Linked DNA regions of Homo sapiens: region 2 is linked to region 1. The links are contacts of gene promoters, found by promoter capture Hi-C in blood cells and fetal thymus (Javierre and others, 2016). All regions are on one chromosome and are shown on one strand. Each heading gives the region's core, a stretch centred on a gene start or on the middle of the fragment in contact. The rest is flanking DNA. Distances are from core to core; before and after follow the strand shown.

Region 1 (3,567 bases), core at 308-2,807:
TAACTGAAACGTGTCTCAAATTTTCGGTGTTCACATCCGCAAAGGAAATGAAATCAGGATCTCGAAGCAATAACTGCATGCCCATCTTCATTGAAACATTATTCACAATAACTAAGATATGGAATCGACCTAAGTGGCTGTCCACCAATGAATGGATAAAGCACATATAGTTTATACACACAATAGAATATTATTCATCCTTAATAAAGAAGATCCTGCTGTTTGCAACATGGATGAACCTCGATGTCATTATGCTAAGTGAAACAAGCCAGACACAGCAAGAAAAATACTGCATGATCTCTTATGTGGATTCTAAAAAAGTCAAATACATAGAAGCAGAGTAGAACAGTGGTTACCAGGGGTGGAGACGTATGGAAATGGTTAAGATGTTGGTCAAAGGATACAAAGTTGCAGTTCTATAGGATGAATAAGTCTAGAGATGTAATGCATAGCATAACTATAGTTAATACTGCATTGTGCATTGGAAACTTGCGGAGAGTACATTTCATGCGCTCTCACCACTTACACAAAATAGTAACTGTGAAGAGATGTATTATGTTAATTAGCTTGACTGTAGAAATCATTTCACTGTGTACATGTATCAAAACATCATGTTGTACACCTTAAATATATAGTTTTTATTTTTAAAACACTGTTTGGGATTAAAAGCCCAGCTAATTCTGCCTTAATATCTCATTCTTATCCACAATGTCCACCCATAAGAAAGACGCCCGATACTCCGTGTAAACACACACTCCCCATCTCCCATACAAATTTACCTTCTAGAGAGAGCCCTTTTCCCCAAACTCTCCTCTCAAAACACTCTGAAGCACAAGGTCTTTAGCCTAGTTAGACATTTTCTGAAAAACTTAGTTTAACTCAGCGTAGAGACACCATGAATTTCAGAGACCCAGTCCTGGGCCTGCTTCAGTTGCTTTAGCCTAGAGTTTCAACTCCCAGGTCCCGGGGAGGGATGCTCCAAGGAAGAAATAGAGGCCCTATTCCAGGGCTGTTTCTCGCAGACTAGCCACAGAAAATGCAGCCCAGCGCCACTTCCTTTCAGTAGCAACACGTTTCCAACACGTTTGTTAAGCGGGAACGGAAGTGAGCGGAAAGGAATGCGTTTGGTAAATCCCACTTTAAGGATTTCGTAATCCTCCCAGGGATTCCCACCACCCGCACTCCACTCGCAGACTGCGGGCCTTCCTCCGACGCTGGGAGAAGGACCCTGGGAGAGGCAAGGGAAGGGCTCCGGAACCAGCGCAGCAGCGGGACGCTAGCCCGCCCACACGGCGGCCACTTGAAGGTCCTCCAGGGAACACCTGAGGCAGTGGGAGCGTCTGCCCTTTCCTAAGTCTCCTTGGAAAGAAGTATTCGCTTTCGTTTCCGCAAACAAAGCATGCTCCGCGCTTTCAGGACCGGTGGCTCCCGTGGAGACCGCAGCGGAACCCAGTCCGCCTTCGCACGCGTCCGGGGGAGAAGCGGCCCCAGGACTAAGGGCGCGCGCCCGAGGAACCGGTGCTGTGACGACCAGAGCAAACACGCCGGATGTTCCTGTGTAGGCTGTGTAAGGAGTGACCGGAAGTAGAAACTGGGTGCTCCAGTGGCGCAATCGGTTAGCGCGCGGTACTTATATGGCAGTATGTGTGCGAGTGATGCCGAGGTTGTGAGTTCGAGCCTCACCTGGAGCATTGTTTTCCAACCCAAAATAGCATTACTTGAAGTGCCTTTCCCCCTGTAATCCGACTCCATCGTCTTTAACGTGTTTGGAATTGTGTACACAGTTTATTGTTATTGGTTTCCTTAGCCTTTTTAGAACCAAGCAACGCCAATTACCAACAAAATCCGTTGCGCCGCAGTGAGTTAGCTACCTTCTATCTCCACTTTGTTCTGCACGTCGATCTCAGGTAAAGAACATCATCTCTTTACATCCTTCTTTCCACTTTGTTCTTAGGATCATCGATCATCGTTCCTCGGGGAGCCCCTGGCACATACTTAGTGCTAAGAAACTCCCATCAGGTGATAAGCATTGAACTCCATTTAAGGAAACTCAAAAGTGGGAAATAGTAAAAGGTTCCTGTCTGATTAAAGCTCTGATTGGGAGGGGTGTGGGGGGACTGATTTCTGACAACAGTGTCCCCTCCAGTATTTTTCCCCCACTTAATTTTACCCTGATAAAAATCAACAGTCATGGAAGATCTAGCAGCTTCTATCAACTGAGAAACAGCACCTGGTGTCCTCAGGCATTCAATTACCTGGACTTGGAAAAGGATGAGTGATAATAGACCCAGAAACCTGAAATCTTTAGAACAGCATTACAAGAATAAGCATATTGTTGTGGCTGAGGTGGGTAGGAAGTAGATAGGGATTTTGACTTTAAAATAGGCTTCCTCTCCCTATGACACCTGCAGTTTGCCTGGACATAGCTTTTATCATATGCTTCCCAACTCTTCAGCAAGAGAGGGAATTGAACTGAGTAATTGGGAGTTGTTTTCCTAGCTATAAAGATTGCCACAAATCTGAAAGCACATGTGTCCCACTTGGGACACGGAGGTGAGTGGAATTAAGCTGAGCACAGATAACTCTCTCTTGAGATCTGTATTCCTAAATGGGTCTTGCATGTATCTGGACATTGTCCACTCACAGACTCTCTCCTGAGAAAGGTTAGCGAGGTCCCGTTCAGGAATGCACCAGATGATAATAAAGTGAACACCTTCTCACTTTGTAGCTCTTGCTAAGCCACTGGAGTACCTTAAAAGCTATCAAAGCATAATCTTCAAATATATATATAGTAACTAATCACCAAATATTTATTTAAGTCACTAATGAGAAAAGGAGGAGTATGGTAAACTGATTGCAATGGCAATAGAAAAGGCTGGTAAAGGTATAGTCAGTGGGGGAAAAATAATGCTGACATGAGATTGCAAGTTTAAGTAAAAAACTAGCTAATGTCCTATGAGGCAGTGAAAACTATGGCCTTTGGGATTATTTTTATCTAAAAGACAGAAACTAGTTGCATCTTTACTGGGTAAAAATCATTCAAAACTTAATATTCTACATAATGACATTTAACCTTGTAATCTATTTTCTAATCATTAGTAAATAGTGACCTCCAAAAGTTCCATTAACTTAGAGGATTACTTGCCCCTTCAGTGGGCTTGTTAGACAATGCTCTAGTATTATTTTGAAAGAGTACTAATATCTTTTTTTTTTGCCTTATATTAACTTTTGGATATTTTTTCTGAATAGATTTAGCACCTTAATTCAATTATTTTATCTCTGTTCCTGATCAGTTGAAGGTATTATTGAGTGTCTTCAGACAGTGTTTAAAAAATGGTGACCTTTGCCATAAAGAATTTTTGTGAACTGGCTTAAGCCAGTTTTGTGATACACAACTTTGGGTGCTTTTGGTAGATGTCTGTAGGCAGCTTACTTTATAGTACTTTATACTATACCTTACTTTATAGTATAAAGTAAGGGATAGTTAGCTACAACATACCAACGAGTTATAGTGATAGAAGATCTTCAACAAAATTTTGTACATATATAGTCATTTATTAGAAAGCA
Region 2 (3,527 bases), core at 594-3,093, 390 kb before region 1:
ATGTAGTGGGGCTTGTTGACAGTGATCTTCACTAGAGGGTAATGTGGTAGGGCCATGTTTTCGGCATTGATGATGTTCGTTTCTTTACAGCTCTCCTCTTCACTTGGTCAGATTTACCAAGTAGAACTCTTTCAATGACATGCCTGGAAGCTAAGGACTGCCTAGCCTGAAATCTGGCAGTAGAGTTGGATAAGACTGCCACGATTTTGTAGCTAGCATGAATAAATTTGTGTGATAATTCTATTTCCATCCTCCCACTCCATGCTACCCATCACATCATCTGTGCCTTGTGTCCTTCATTCAAGATACTATCTGTTTCATCCTCTTTCTGCCAGGGTTGGAAAGACAAGAGAGAGAGAGAGCTTTTATACATTCTTCCTTATTTTAGCCCTTCACCAATTATCCCTCAGATCCAGAAGTACCTATGGTCATAAATTTCTGAGTCTTTAGAAAATCCTGTGGTGTAACTTAGGCTGATTTTTAGCTTTTCCCACTGCAAGCTTAGAACTCAGTTTTCTCTTTTCAATATAAAATATTTTTTCAATATAAAATATGATTCATTTTTTCTTGTCTTTTATGGCTATACAGTTGACCTTTGAACCACACTGGTTTGAATTACCAAGGTCCATTGTTACGTGAATTTTTTTCCTACTAAACGCAAATGGAAAATACAGTATTTGTGGGATGTGAAATCTGCCTACAGGGAGGGCTGACTTTTAGTTTCCGTGGTTCTGCAGGGCTGACTGCTGGACTTGAGTAAGTCCAGATTTTGGTATACCACAGGGTCCTGGAAACAATTTGCTGCACCTACTGAGAGATGGCTGTACTTTTTTTTTTCTTCAAAATCAATTTTTGTGTCCCATTTGTTTAGAAGCTCTATATTCTATATCTATTACTTTTTGCATTTGTCATAAAACTTTAAGACCCATAATTAAACAATTAAAATTAATCAACATGTTTACAATTCTCCCAATAGAATGACACTAGAACACTTTTGTCTTACAACTTTCCTCTCAAATTTTGTGATATTATTGTTCAGTAGGCTGTTCACTCTGTGTAAATCACTTACCATTATTGTTTCATATATTGTATATTTGTTAATATACACCTACCTAGTGATATCATCTCTCCTCATCATTTCTGCATTTCTCTTTCTTGGAAACATATATGTAAGTGTAAAGAGATTGTGCAACTGTATTTCTACATCTTACCAAATATTACTTAATATTTTTATGTGCATATGTATCAAATGTCTGTAGAAGGACACATGACAATGTGATAACACTGTCTTTGGAAAGGAATTAAGTGACTAGATTTAAGTAAGGATGATCAAAGGAGACGTTTTAAATGTAATGTTTCAAAATTTTTAACCTTTAAATGTTGAGATAAATGTGGATTCACATGCAGTTGTAAGAAATCATACAGAGAAATCCCAGTTTCTTCCAATGATAACCACTATTTTGCAAAATTAGTACAATCATACAACCTGGATATTGACAATGATACAGCCAAGCTACAGAACATTTCTATCACCCCATGGATACATCATGTATCCTTGGATAACTACACCTACCTCACTCCCCAACCCTTATACATGACAACCACTAAGCTGTTCATTTCTATAATTTATCATTTTAAGAATGTTATAAATGGAATCATACAGTATATAAACTTTAGTATTGGCTTTTTTCACTCAGAACAATTATTTTAATTTTCTTACTAGTAGATATTATTTTCCTGCTTGAGGAATTATGATTTATTTTTCTAAGGACAAGACAATATGGATGATCAGGGTTTTTTTGTTTGTTTTTTTGAGATGGAGTTTTGCTCTTGTTGCCCAGGCTGGAGTGCAATGGAGTGATCTCGGCTCACCGCAACCTCTGCCTCCCGGGTTCAAGCGATTCTCCTGCCTCAGCCTCCCAAGTAGCTGGGATTACAGGCATGCGCCACCATGCCCACCTAATTTTATATTCTTAGTAGGGATGGGGTTTCTCCATGTTGGTCAGGCTGGCCTTGAATTCCTGACCTCAGGTGATCCGCCCACCTCGGCCTCTCAAAGTGCTGGATTATAGGTTTGAGCCACTGTGTCTGGCCTGGATGATCAGGTTTTATTCTTTATTAGTTGAGATAATTATATTTGTAATTGAATTATGATTATTGAACTGCATTCTTTTTGGTTGTTGATTTCTCATTTTCTCAAAGCAGATGCCCAAAATCTGTGGAGGTGGTTGTCATTGCAAAGAAGTACCACAGGGCTTAAAAAGGCAAAGTTCACCCCAATGAACTTCTTAGTATTCAAAAACAGGTTCAGTTTTTGAAAAATAACCTAGACTGAAGGAAACAATCATATCAAGCCCACAGGAAAAAATGAAGCACAGGGTCAAAATGATCGTCTCTTTAGTTGCTTTCATCCCAGGGCTTTTTTTTCTTGGAGATGGAGTTTCACTCCTGTTACCCAGGCTGGAGTGCAATGGTGCGATCTCGGCTCACTGCAACCTTTGCCTCCCGGGTTCAAGTGATTATCCTGCCTCAGCCTCCCGAGTAGCTGGGATACAGGCATGCACCACCACGCCCAGCTAATTTTGTATTTTTAGTAGAGATGGGGTTTCTCCATGTTGGTCAGGTTGGTCTCGAACTCTCAACCTCAGGTGATCCGCCTGCCTCAGCCTCCCAAAGTGCTGGGATTACAGGCCTGAACCACCGCGCCCGGCCCCAGGGTTCATTTTGAATTAGGGGCCCGACCTGTGAAGGTGCTGTATTTGCTCGTGATGTCTGTAGAGGGGATGCATCCTATACCCACTCGTCCAGCACATAAAACCCAGGAGGGGAAACGTCATGAATGTGAAATGCCATGAACGTGAGAAAGAATCACCTAATAAAATTATCCGTTAGCAAAACAGAGCAAGATTTCACAATGTATCTGGATACAGTCTCATTCTTGAGGGCTGTAATTGAGATAAAATTAAGTTGGAAAATATGAGTAAATTAAATTAAGAATTCAAACAAAAAGGAGTAAAGGGCACACAATGGTTTTCTGGTTTTGAGCACTGATCAATAGGGGTTACAAAGGCCAATGATGATGGCATAAAGAATGCTTAAGTGGCTTGTCTAACAGATGGAAAGGCCACGTGACACTGTGTAGCTATTTGTCTTAAAAATAACATAATGTATGAGAGTTCTCAAGACCAAAGCTTAAGAATCCTTGGGGATTCCTATAATACAAGCCACTAACATGTGGACCAATGAGAAGTGGGTTATTAGTAGGCATATGGGCCTCTGCTTGAGACTCACAATGAAAATATGAGCATAGCTCACAAAGAGAATGGCATTCCCCATGACATCAAGTCTAGCTTAGAAAAGAAAAGCGGGCAGGTGCAGTGGCTTAGTTCTGTAATCCCAGCACTTTGGAAGGCTGAGGTGGGCAGATCACTTCAGCTTGGGCTCAGGAGTTCAAGTCCAGCTGGACAACATAGTGAAAACCCCATCTCTACAAAAATTAGCTGGGTGTGGTGACTTGTCCCTGTAGT

The links. Contacts are between HindIII fragments. The CHiCAGO score rates a contact against its expected background, and 5 or more counts as called.
Region 2: a contact is called between a fragment that was not itself captured here and the fragment with the promoter of LARRPM in region 1, in 2 of 17 cell types (erythroblasts and M1 macrophages). The highest score is 5.7, in erythroblasts.

What each region holds. Positions count from the first base shown.
Region 1 is chr6:27,018,749-27,022,315 of GRCh38, forward strand. LARRPM (LINC00240 antisense RNA regulating promoter methylation) reads right to left here and starts at 1,558. Exons shown (of 1, transcript NR_026776.1): 1 at 618-1,558. The region is part of intron 2 of LINC00240 (long intergenic non-protein coding RNA 240); the gene reads left to right. TRI-TAT2-2 (tRNA-Ile (anticodon TAT) 2-2) reads left to right here and starts at 1,598; the gene lies at 1,598-1,691. RefSeq lists an enhancer at 1,303-1,562. The HindIII fragment of the contact is 5,623 bases long and covers 1-3,567 here.
Region 2 is chr6:26,628,371-26,631,897 of GRCh38, forward strand. It overlaps the pseudogene VN1R14P. Among named protein-coding and RNA genes, the nearest start is that of ZNF322, 30 kb to the right of the region's middle. The HindIII fragment of the contact is 2,691 bases long and covers 499-3,189 here.